Regions from separate parts of the Homo sapiens genome. Here region 1 is linked to region 2. The links are contacts of gene promoters, found by promoter capture Hi-C in human tissues and cell types (Jung and others, 2019). All regions are on one chromosome and are shown on one strand. Each heading gives the region's core, a stretch centred on a gene start or on the middle of the fragment in contact. The rest is flanking DNA. Distances are from core to core; before and after follow the strand shown. Region 1 overlaps MOK (MOK protein kinase). Region 2 holds the start of EIF5 (eukaryotic translation initiation factor 5).

What was found. The method cuts DNA at HindIII sites, captures the fragments that hold promoters and counts their contacts. A contact is called where the count stands out against the background at its distance.
Region 1: a fragment that was not itself captured here is called in contact with the fragment with the promoter of EIF5 in region 2 in 1 of the 25 tissues and cell types used here (adrenal gland).

Annotation. Positions count from the first base shown.
Region 1 is chr14:102,286,079-102,291,985 of GRCh38, forward strand. All of the region lies in intron 1 of MOK (MOK protein kinase), which reads right to left. Among named protein-coding and RNA genes, the nearest start is that of MOK, 16 kb to the right of the region's middle. The HindIII fragment of the contact is 3,933 bases long and covers 1,936-5,868 here.
Region 2 is chr14:103,329,574-103,335,502 of GRCh38, forward strand. EIF5 (eukaryotic translation initiation factor 5) reads left to right here and starts at 4,664. Exons shown (of 12, transcript NM_001969.5): 1 at 4,664-4,687; 2 at 4,816-5,024. EIF5-DT (EIF5 divergent transcript) reads right to left here and starts at 5,087. Exons shown (of 1, transcript NR_158216.2): 1 at 2,099-5,087. RefSeq lists an enhancer at 4,120-4,239 and silencers at 4,560-4,979, 5,120-5,169, 5,280-5,519. The HindIII fragment of the contact is 9,721 bases long and covers 1,197-5,929 here.

The DNA of each region.
Region 1 (5,907 bases), core at 2,652-5,151, 1.0 Mb before region 2:
CACGAGGTCAGAAGATCGAGACCATCCTGGCTAACACGGTGAAACCCCGTCTCTACTAAAAATACAAAAAATTAGCCGGGCGTGGTGGCGGGTGCCTGTAGTCCCAGCTACTCGGGAGGCTGAGGCAGGAGAATGGCGTGAACCCAGGAGGCGGAGCCTGCAGTGAGCCGAGATCGCGCCACTGCACTCCAGCCTGGGCGACAGAGCGAGACTCCGTCTCAAAAAAAAAAAAAAAAAAAAAAAAAAAGATGTGCATCCTCCGGCCGGGCGCAGTGGCTCACGCCTGTAATCCCAGCACTTTGGGAGGCCAAGGTGAGGATCACTTGAGCCCAGGAGTTCAAGGCCAAGTTGGGCAACATAGACCCCGTCTCTACAAAAAATAATTAGCCAGACTCAATGGCACACGCCTGTCATCCCAGCTACTCAGGAGGCTGAAGTGGGAGAACCACTTGAGCCCAGGAGTTTGAGGCTGCAGTGAGTAGGGATCGCACTACTATACGCTAGCCTGGGCGACAGAGGGAGACCCTGTCTAAAAGAAAAAAAAATAACTTGCTCAAGTACATATGACAGGAAGATTAATGATTGCACCATTAATCAATACAGTAAAGCTGATAACCCAAATGGCCCCCATAGGAAACTGGATTAATATGGTTTACCTGTATAACGGAATATACTGTAAATATTTAAAATAATGGGTGGCAGGTGCCTGTAGTCCCAACTATTTGAGAGGCTGACGCAGGAGAATCACTTCAACCAGGGAAGTGGAGGTTGCAGTAAGCTGAGATTGCGCCACTCCACTCCAGCCTGGGCAACAAAGTGAGACTCCGTCTCAAAAATAATAATAATAATAATAATAATAATAATAATAATGTCCTTAAAAACTATACACACACACAGAATTAATACTGGCTCTGTCTGAGGTTACAGGTGTCTCATTTTCTAAGTTAGATATTTTCCACAATGTTGTTTTTTGAAATAAGAGCATGATTTTCACTGTTTTATTTCAAAATAACAAAAACTAAATACTCCTCCCCCAGAAAAGATGGTGGTGGGGAAAATGGTAAAATGCTGATCACTGCTGAAATTCGGTGATGGATTTATGAGGGTTCAGTGGGCGTGGTGGCTCACGCCTGTCATCCCAGCACTTTGGGAAGCCGAAGCAGGCAGATTACCTGAGGTCAGGAGTTCGAGACCAGCCTGGCCAACATGGCGAAACTCCATCTCTACTACAAATACAAAACTTGGCCAGGCACAGTGGCACATGCCTGTAATCCCAGCACTTTGGGAGGCCGAGACGGGCAGATCACGAGGTCAGGAGTTCAAGACCAGGCCAGCCTGACCAAGATGATGAAACCCCATCGTACTAAAAATATAAAAATTAGCTGAGCATGGCAGCGCTATATATCTGATAAGAAACTTATATCTAGAATATATAAATAAGTCTTATAACTCAATACAAAGACAATCCAACTAAAAGGTGATCAAAAGATTTGACAGATATTTCTCCAAAGAAGACATAAAAATGACCAATAAGCTATGAAATGATGCTCAACATCATCAGTCATTAGGGAAAAGCAAGTTAAAACTATGATGAGATACCACTTCACACTCACTAGAATCAAAAACATAGATAATAACAAGTGTTGGTGAGGATGTGGAGAAATTGGGACCCTCATACATTGCTGGCAGGAATGGAAAATGGTGCAGACACTATGAAAAACAGTTTAGCCAGTTCTTTGAGATTTTTTTTTTTTTTTTTTTTTTTGAGACGGAGTCTTGCTCTGTCGCCCAGGCCGGACTGCGGACTGCAGTGGCGCAATCTCGGCTCACTGCAAGCTCTCCGCTTCCCGGGTTCACGCCATTCTCCTGCCTCAGCCTCCCGAGTAGCTGGGATTACAGGCGCCCGCCACCGCGCCCGGCTAATTTTTTGTATTTTTAGTAGAGACGGGGTTTCACCTTGTTAGCCAGGATGGTCTCGATCTCCTGACCTCATGATCCACCCGCCTCGGCCTCCCAAAGTGCTGGGATTACAGGCGTGAGCCACCGCACCCGGCCTGAGATGTTAAACAGAGTTACCATATGACCCAGCAATTCCACTCCTACATATATGCCTAAGAGAAACAAAAACGTATGTCCAAACAAAAACCTGTAAGTGAATGTTCACAGTAGCATTATTCATAATATCTGAAAGGTGGAAAGCATCCAAATGTCCATCAGGAGATGAACGGATAAACAAAATGTGGTCTATCCATACAATGGAATATTACTCAGCCATGAAAAGGAATGAAGTACTGATACATGCTACAGCATGGATGAGCCTTGAGGACATTATGCTAAGTGAAAGAAATCAGGCACAAAATGCCACATATTATGTGATCCCACTTATATGAAATGTCCAGAATAAGCAAATCTATAGAGGCAGGAAATAGATTTGTAATTGCCTAGGGCTGGTGGAATGTGGGATAAAGGAGTAACCACTCCTTATTTCTTTTGGGGTACAGGTTTCTTTTGGGGATGATGAAAATATTTTAACATTAGATTATAGTTATAGTTACACAACTCAGAAAATATACTTAAAATCACTGAGCAGTATACTTTAAATGAGTGAACGTTATAGTATGTATATTTCAATAACTCCATTAAAACAGACAACTCTGTGGTGTTGGAAATCAGAAAGTGGTTACCCTTGTGGGGTGAAGTGACCAGAATGGGCTGAAGGGGACACCCATGATACCAGTAACACTCTGCTTCTTGATCTGGAAGCAGGTTTCATTGGCATGTTCACTTCACCAACTTGTATACTTAAATGTAAGTGCAGCTTTGTTTTGTTTTGTTTTGTTTTGAGACAGGGTCTCACTCCGTTGCCCAGGCTGGAGAGCAGTGGTGCAACCTCGGCTCACTGCAACCTCCACCTCCTAGGCTCAAGCGATCATCCCACCTCAGCCTTCTGAGTAGCTGGGACTACAGGCACCCGCCACCATGCCCAGCTAATTGTTTTGTATTTTTTGTAGAGACAGGATTTCACCATGTTGCCCAGGCTGGTCTCAAACTCCTCAGCACAAGTGATCCGCCCGTCTTGGCCTCCCAAAGTGCTGGGATTACAGGCACGAGCCACTGCGCTTGGCCAATTTGTGCAGTTTTCTGTATTATGTTATACTCCAAAATAAAATCAGAAAAAAAAAACAGAGTTAGGAATAAGCAGAGAGTATAAGGAACAGAAATGATACACAGTAAAAGTATATACAGGGAAAATCACAAAGAAACACAGACTGAGAAATCTCATTAATGGCAGAATATGCACGTCTACAAATCCCTACTGCTAAGGTGCAAAACAATCTGCTTTCAATACTATTCTAGTTCCTAAGAGGGCCAATTCCCTCCTGCTCTCGGGTTTTCCTATTTTTAAGCTCCTGTTTTTTATTTTTATTTTATTTTATTTTATTTTGAGACAGAGTCTCACTGTGTTGCCCAAGTGATCTCGGCTCACTACAACCTCCATCTTCCAAGTTCAAGAGATTCTCGTGCCTCAGCCTCCCAAGTAGCTGGGATTACAGGTGTGTGCCACCATACCAAGCTAATTTTTGTATTTTTAGTAGAGATGGGGTTTCACCATGTTGGCCAGGCTGGTCTCGAACTCCTAACCTCAGGTAATCCACCCGCCTCAGCTTCCCACCCGCCTCACCCTCCCAAAGTGCTGGGATTATAGGCGTGAGCCACTGCACCCAGCCCTCAAGCTCCTTCTTTGTCAACAGTTATAATAATATGTCTCCATACTGTGAGGTGTAAGGAGATTTACTGGTCCTTACAATTGAAACTAAAACAATTCTCTTAATAAGAACTAAAGGATAAAGAACACTTCTTCAACAGTCTTCCTAACAAGGAGACTAGATTCTTTTTCTCCATGGTTAGAACGAGACATCCTCTTCTGGTTTCTCAAAACAGGTCTCCACCCTATTTCCCAGGTGGCTTCCTTGTTCGAAATGAAAACCCTCTGGGAAGGGTTTGAGTATTACTTGGTCCTGGAAACTTACAAGAAGCAGGAGATAAAATGCATTACACTTAGAGAAAAAAAAAAAAAAGACTAGGTATGGTGGCTCACGCCTATAATCCCAGCACTTTGGAAGGCCGAGGTGGGCAGATCATCTGAGGTCGGGAGTTCAAGACCAGCCTGACCAACATGGAAAAACCCCATCTCTACTAAAAATACAAAATTAGCCGGGTGTGGTGGTGCATGCCTCTAATCCCAGCTACTCAGGAAGGCTGAGGCAGGCGAATCGCTTGAACCCAAGAGGAGGAGGTTGCGGTGAGCCGAGATCACGCCACTGCACTCCAGCCTGGGCAACAAGAGCAAAACTCAGTCTCAAAAAAAAAAGAGAGAAACAAACAAACAAAAAAAATAGTAAAAATGAACAAAAAAGGCTTGGGGAATGGAACATTAACCATTCAATTTGTGTATAAGTAAATCGGTATATTAAAAGTCACAGCCTGAGACAGAGCCAAGTGTCACAACTGGTCTGTGTTATGAGCAAAAGAAAGGTGGCCTACTGCACCAGGAAGGGCTGCTCTCCATTACCACTTCCAGGAAAAACAACCTGAGGATGCTGAATCTCCAGACTAGCATTTTCCAAACTGAGTACTACAAAACACGAGGATCCCTGAACCCTAATGGGTATTCCACAAAAGAGGGTTCCATAAGCAAATAAATTTAGGAAATACAGAGTTAAATACGGCAAAATGTGTTTGCAGAATTCCTCAATGCCTTTCCCTGCATATGAGATGAGTCTCCAAATGGAGGTGGGGTATATGAGAGGGGTGTGAGATACAACCAGAGAACACCAGTTAACATCCCCCAGCACCGCTCTAGATCCCCAAACCGAAGATCTTCAAACTATGCTATTAGAATCCCTTTTATCCAAGTTTTCCCTGAATAAAAGAGGAACTAATCTAGCTCCCAGCAAGGCAGGGTTTCAGAACTATTCTGCTAGCTTTATTGTTCTCACTTGCCTTCTGGGAGAAACTGGCTAATGTAAGGCAGGAGTGAGCCCCGCTGAGGCTTCAGGACAGAGCACGGTACCATATCCCTTCTGACAAAAAACCGGAAGCCATAACTTGCTTGACAACTATAGCTTAACTAAGTCCCAGAGCCTCTCTACAACTGGAAACCTAATTAAATTCCATTAAATCCTAAAACCAGGCAATAAAGATTCTTTGGTGCATCTCCAAGAAGCTTCTGCAAAAGAAATGGACCAAAATACAGGCCCTGGCCCTGACCACTAATTTGTACAGTTTAAAACCTCATTAAGTAATTTTGACAAGTTTCTTGAGGAGCCTCCAAACTTGAAACTTTGTGGGAAAATTCAACAGCCTAAACATCTTCTGCCCTCAAGCAGACCCTCATACTGACCTACCAGGCCCTGTTCATACTAGTCAAGGGATAGCTGTTGCTTGCTAAAACACCACCAAAATTTACCCCTTCTCTTAAATGAATTAAACTGGAAAGCCCAGAAATTTCTCTACAAGAAGATCAGTGTCTTCATTGTGCAGAAGAGCTCACACAGCAGGCCTGGGACTTCTCTCCTTAGAAAGGTCTGCTTGCAGCCAAGTGCGGTGGCTCACACCTGTAATCCCAGCACTTTGGGAGGCCAAGGTGGGCAGATCACCTCAGATCGGGAGTTTGAGACCAGCCTGGCCAACATGGTGAAACCCCATCTCTACTAAAAATACAAAAAATTTTCCAGGCATGGTGGCCTGTGCCTGTAATCCCAGCTACTTGGGAGGCTGAGACAGAAGAACTGTCTGAACCTGGGAGGCGGAGGTTGCAGTGAGCCGAGATCACGCCACTGTACTGAAGCCTGGGCAACAGAGCAAAACTCTGTCTCAAAAAAAAAAAAACTAACAATAATAATA
Region 2 (5,929 bases), core at 3,414-5,913:
TTGAACCCAGGAGGCAGAGGTTGCAAGAGCTGAGATCGTGCCATTGCATTCCAGCCTGGCAACGGAGCGAGACTCCATCTCAAAAAAAAAAGAAAAAAAAAAAGTTGAGAGGTGGGTGTCACAGAGGAGGACCACTGCCCCTCACAGTGTACAATATCTGAGTCCATTTGAGAGCTCACAGCTCAGAAACACAAGGCTCTCAGTCCATGCAGAGTTGATCTTGGTGGGGGGTGGGAGGGAGGGGACACTCATTCACATTCAACAGAGTCACAGCCAATGTGTAAACAACCAGAAGGCCAGTTTACCAATCTACCTTTCCAGCAGCTATTCCTGTCATCAGGGCATGCACTGAGGTGTGCAATTCATGCACTCATTCAGCAAGGTTTTGACAAGCACCAAGTGTCCATTAGTGCACGGACTGTGAGCACCTGACTGGGGAAAATAATGCAGCCAAATGAGGTGGAGATCCAGAAACGGGAAGTGGAATTGTGCAATGAGCTTGGCGTCACACAAGCTGGAGTTCAAACGCTGTCCATCATTTATTAGGGAGGCGACTTTGGGGAAAATTGCTTAACCTTCCTGAGTCTCTTTCCTCACCTGTAAAATGGGTATAACAACATCTCCTTACATGATTATTAAAGAATGGGATTACATATGTAAAATGCCTAGTTTTGTTTGTTTTTGTATTTATCTGGAGAGGCCATGCCACATAATTTTTAAGGGAACAGGCTTTGGGATCAGACAGAGCTGTCTTTAAATCCTAGCTCTGCCACTTACTAGGTACATGATTTGGGTAAGTTGCTTAATTTTTTTCCACTAAGCCTTGGTTCGCTCATTTGTAAAATGGAAATACGAATTCCTCATAGGGCCTGGGAAATAAGATAATGTATTCCAAGAACTTAGAAAACTCCTAGGATATGATAAGCATTTAACAAATGGTATGATTAAGAGTAATTTTTAGGTGCCAATATCCAGAATAAACAAGGAACTCAAACAACTCAGTGACAAAAAATAAATAAATCTGATTTTTAAATAGACAAACGATCTCAATAGATATTTCTCCAAGAAAGACATACAAGTGGCCAACACATGTATGAAAAAATGCTCAATGTCACTAATCAACAGGGAAACGCAAATCAAAACCACAAAGACAAAAAATAGCAAATGCTGGCAAGGGTGCAGAGAAAAGGGAACTCTGATGCACTGTGGGTGGGAAGGTAAATTAGTACAGCCATTAGGGAAAACAGCATGGAGGTTTCTCAAAAAACTAAAAATAGATCTTCCATATGATCCAGCAATCCCACTACTAGGTATTTATCCAAAGGAAATCAAATCAATATTATCAAAGAGATATCTGCACCCCCATGTTTATTGCAGCGCCAGTCACAATAGCAAAAGATATGGAATCAACTTAAGCGTCCACCAACAAATGAATGGACAGGCTGGTTGCAGTGGCTCATGCCTGTAATCCCAGCACTTCAGGATGCCGAGGTGGGAGGACTGCTTGAGGCCAGGAGTTCGAGACCAGCCTAGGCAACATAGTGAGCCCCCCCCCCACCCCTCCCGCGCCATCTTATTATTTAAAAAAAAAAAAAAAGGATAAAGAAAATGTGTTATAGGCTGGGCGTGGTGGCTCACGCCTGTACTCCCAGGACTTTGGGAGGCCAAGGCAGGTGGATCACACAGGAGTTCAAGACAGACCAGCCTGTCCAATACAGTGAAACCCTGTCTCTACTAAAAAAAAAAAAAAAAAATTAGCCGGGCTTGATGGCACGCACCTGTTGTCCCAGCCACTTGGGAGGCTGAGGCAGGAGAATCGCCTGAACCTGGGAGCCGGAGGTTGCAGTGAACTGAGATCAGACCACTTGCACTCCAGCCTGGGTGATACAGTGAGACTCCGTCTCAAAAAAAAAAAGTTTTACATATACTGGAACACTATTCAGTCATAAAAAAATAATGAAATCCTTTTATCTGAAGCAACATGGCTGAGACTGGAGGACAGTATCATATTAAGTGAAATAAGTCAGGCACAGAAAGATAAATACCACATATTCTCATTCATATGTGGGAGCTAAAAAAAAATTCGAGTTCATGGAAGTAGAGACTTGAATTGTGGTTTATTAGAAGCTGGGAAGGCTAGTGGGAGGAGAGGAGAGGGAGAGGTTGATACAAAATTGCAGCTCAATAAGTTCTAGTGCTCTGTAGTATTTCAAGGTAAATATACTTAACAACAATCTATTGTATATTTTCAAAAAGCTAGAAGAGAGAATTCTGAATGTTCCCAACACAAAGAAATGATAAACATCTGAGGTGATGGATATGCTGATTACTGTGCTTTGATCATTACACGTTGTATACATGTACTGAAATATCACTTTGTATCCCACAAATGTGTTATTATGTATTAACTAAAAATAAAAGGGAGAAAAAGAACACAAAAGTATTTTTTTAAGTTGTCCATGGTTGCATACAAATGAGTGGTACACATATTAAAAAGCAGTTAAAATTATTACAAACTTCAACGAAATTAAAAATTGTGCCACTAAACATACAAAAAAGCTAATTACTTCGTGTTTCATTAAAACTTTTCTGAAAAGGCAGGCCTCTCACCTCAGACTAGTTTCATGCCTATACTTTCCAACAGAGTTTCTAAAATAACATCATTTTTGTGCTGCCAAGCAAAAAGTCAGATCTGTTTCAATACTGCTAAGTCATGCTCCACAGTGAAACAGCAGCAGCATGTCTGGGATCCCCTTTTCTAGTTTGTCTGATGGGAACCCTGGTACTCACAAGGCACTGTGCACTTGGCTTAACAACTATACACCAAGGTACACACTGCGGGATTATAAAAGTCCCTGCCCTAAAGGACACAAATCACCTCTCAATTCTGGATTGTGCCTTTATTTCTTCCTACCAACACTGCCAATTTTTAAGTTGTTTATAAAGCTTTTAGTTATGGAAGCACGATCTTGGATTTTGATATAAAAATCAACATAGCTGCCAATTCTAACCTCAGTGCAAATGCAACTGGTCCAAAACAAAGGGCAGCCCCTTATCTACCTCATCCTGTCCTCAGCAACATTTCTCTTTTCCAGATCGGGAAACCTGCACGGCCGCTCAGGACTTCTCGATGACTGCACCTTAGAGACCAGAGTGCAGGTTAGCGGGGCTCTCGCTCCATCAGTCAAGTGAGGTCTTCAAACTTCAGGGTGAACTATGGATGTGTTTTTAAGACTCAAGTTTTCACAAAAAAAATCCAAGTTTCAGAAAGAATGGGAGAGTTTCAACAGAACTAAAATATGAGAGCCTCTCTCTAAATAATAAAAATTTTCTTTTTTTTTTTTTTTGGAGACAGTCTCGCTCTGTTGTCCAGGCTGGAGTGCAGTGGTGTGATCTCGGCTCACTGTAACCTGTGCCTCCCGGGTTCAAGGATTCTCCTGCCTCAGCCTCCCGAGTAGCTGGGATTACAAGCGAGCCACCACGCCCAGCTAATTTTTTGTATTTTTAGTAGAGACAGGGTTCCACCATATTGGCCAGGCTGGTCTCAAATTCCCGACCTCAGGTGATCCGCCCACCTCAGCCTCCCAAAGTGCTGGGATTACAGACGTGAGCCACCGCGACCGGCCTAAATAATAGTAATTTTCAACGGAATACATTGGAATCTCATTATAAATGCCTGCTCTGGGCTACGATTTGCTTATCAAAGAATTCACAAGTCATAAACTAGAGGGGGTGGACTCGACGTGATGCCCACTAGGAGAAAGGTGACAAGAGAAGCACGAAGGATAGCGCTTTTCAACCCTGGGAGAGCAGGGAGGCCTTCACCAGAAGGTGGGAACCCACCACGAAGCGCCTTCAGGAGGCCCCAGGATTCCAAACCAATTAAGGGCCTCCTCTTCCGAAAACGGGAGGCGACGCGCTGAGCTAAGCGCGCAGGCTGGGTTGCGGGCCGACACCGAGGCGGCGCGGCCTCGCGACCGCCCTGGGCGGTCACTGGCGAGTCACGGACTCGTTCCGCCAGCGGCCAATCCACCCCGAGTCCGAAACAGAAGACGTCCCTGGGATGAAAGACCCAGGCCTGGGGCTTAAGGTGGAAAAACAACTCATTCCTCGAGGCCCGGAGTCGGGCGTCCCGGGAGAACGGGAAAGGGAGATGAGCGCCCGCTGCGGGGAGAACGCGGTCGGGTTCCTCTCCCCGAAGGTGGCAGCCGCAAAAACACGGCCTCGAAAGCAGTTTCGAGGACGATGGCTCCTGCGTCCCGGGAGTCGCCATGACGCCGCGGCCTGTCCCAGACCCGGCGAGGGAGGGGACCAACCACCATCTCCCCCTCAAGGCCCAAACCGACAAAGAACGGCCCCCGGTACCCCGGCCCCGCCACCAGGGCCACTCCGGGTCTCGCGAGACCCAAGGGCTGCGCCGCGAAGACCTCTGGGAAAGGCGGGGGGAGGGGAGAGGAAGGAAGCGAGACCGGGGCTGGAGGCGGGCCGAGGCCGCGAGTTGAGCCTCAGGAAGCAGAAGGGGCGCGGAAAGATGCGATTGACGTCGCAAGCGAACCAATGACGAGCGAGCTGTGGCAGGCCTCCAGCCAATGGGCAGTGAGGCCTGACGCGGGGGGCGGACGCTGGGGCCGAGGGTAGCTTGAGCGCGGCGGCGGCGTTGTTCAGTCAGAGCGAGAACATTCCAGAGGTGAGTCCGGTGAAGGGGCGGCCCCCTGCCCGGTGCTTCCCGCCCCCTCGACCCCTCGGGCCGCTGGCTGGCGGGGAAGGTGCACTCCCCGACCGCCCACGGCTCACGGCGCCGTCTCTCCGCGCCAGGTCGCCCAGCTCCGGCGCTGACGGGTGTGGACCGCGGACGTCGCTGGGACAGCCCCTCCCCGCTGCTCGGCGGCGGCACCTGGCCCGGCCGCTCCTCGCTGCGCTTCGCCTCCGCCTCCTCGGACTCGGACTCGGGTTTATATCGCGCCTCACTTCATCCCAGTCCCGGGCGAGCAGCGTTGGGTTTATGTCTTTATTTGACGAAAACGGTGAGTCGCGGGCGCGGCGGGCCAGGAGATGGCGGCCGCACAAGATGGCGGCGGCCGCCGCGTGACCCCGCCGCGGCGTGTGGCGCAGTTTGGGCGGACGGCGGGCGGGCGCGGGCCCGGGCGCCGGCCGCCCCCTCCCCGCGCGCTCCCCGGCCCGGCCTCGCCCCCTCCCCGGCATGGCGGGAGCGCGTCGCGCGTGCCCGCCGCTCGGGCTGACTCAGGCTTCAGCTGCTGCATTTGTGAGTCATCGCGCGCTCTGGGGCGGGGGCGGCCCGATCCCGGCACCCCTCGGCCGTGTGTCGCTTCCCGGCTGTGCACCCTCCGGGGCCGCCGGCTCTCGGGGGACGCGCTGGGGATGGGGCCAGACGCCCCGGTCGCGCGCCCCCCTCCTTCGCGGAGCTGCCCGGTTCGCCAGCCCCCGCGGAAACGCCTCGGAGCGCGGTAGCCATGGGGACCAGGGCGAAGGTTAACCGAGTATTTGAATAGCGAGGAAAAGGGAGGCCGGGGCGAGCCTGGCGTTCGCTCGCGCTCTCTTGCTTAATGGCAAATTGTGGGCGAGCGCTGCGTTTAAGGAAGTGCTGCTTTGAAGTAAGCCATGGTTGCCGAAGCAACGATTAGTTGTAGAGAACAGTTCCCTAGGTTGCCCTTAAAAATGAAGACGAACGGGGGTGTGCCTGAGAAGTTTGCTTATCCAGGCGGGGTGGGCGGCGGAGAGGGCTCGGGTTCGTTCTTCAGCACTTCCAGGATGGCCGCAGAGGCAAACCTGCTGATTGCCCTCGGTCTGATGGAATCTCACGGCGGCTGAGGCAGCACAGCTTGTGTTTTCTTGTCAGGCATTTCCCTACCAGTCACAGCTTAGTCGAAATGGAGGCCTTTTTATGTTCCCGCAGATTGTACTGTGTTAC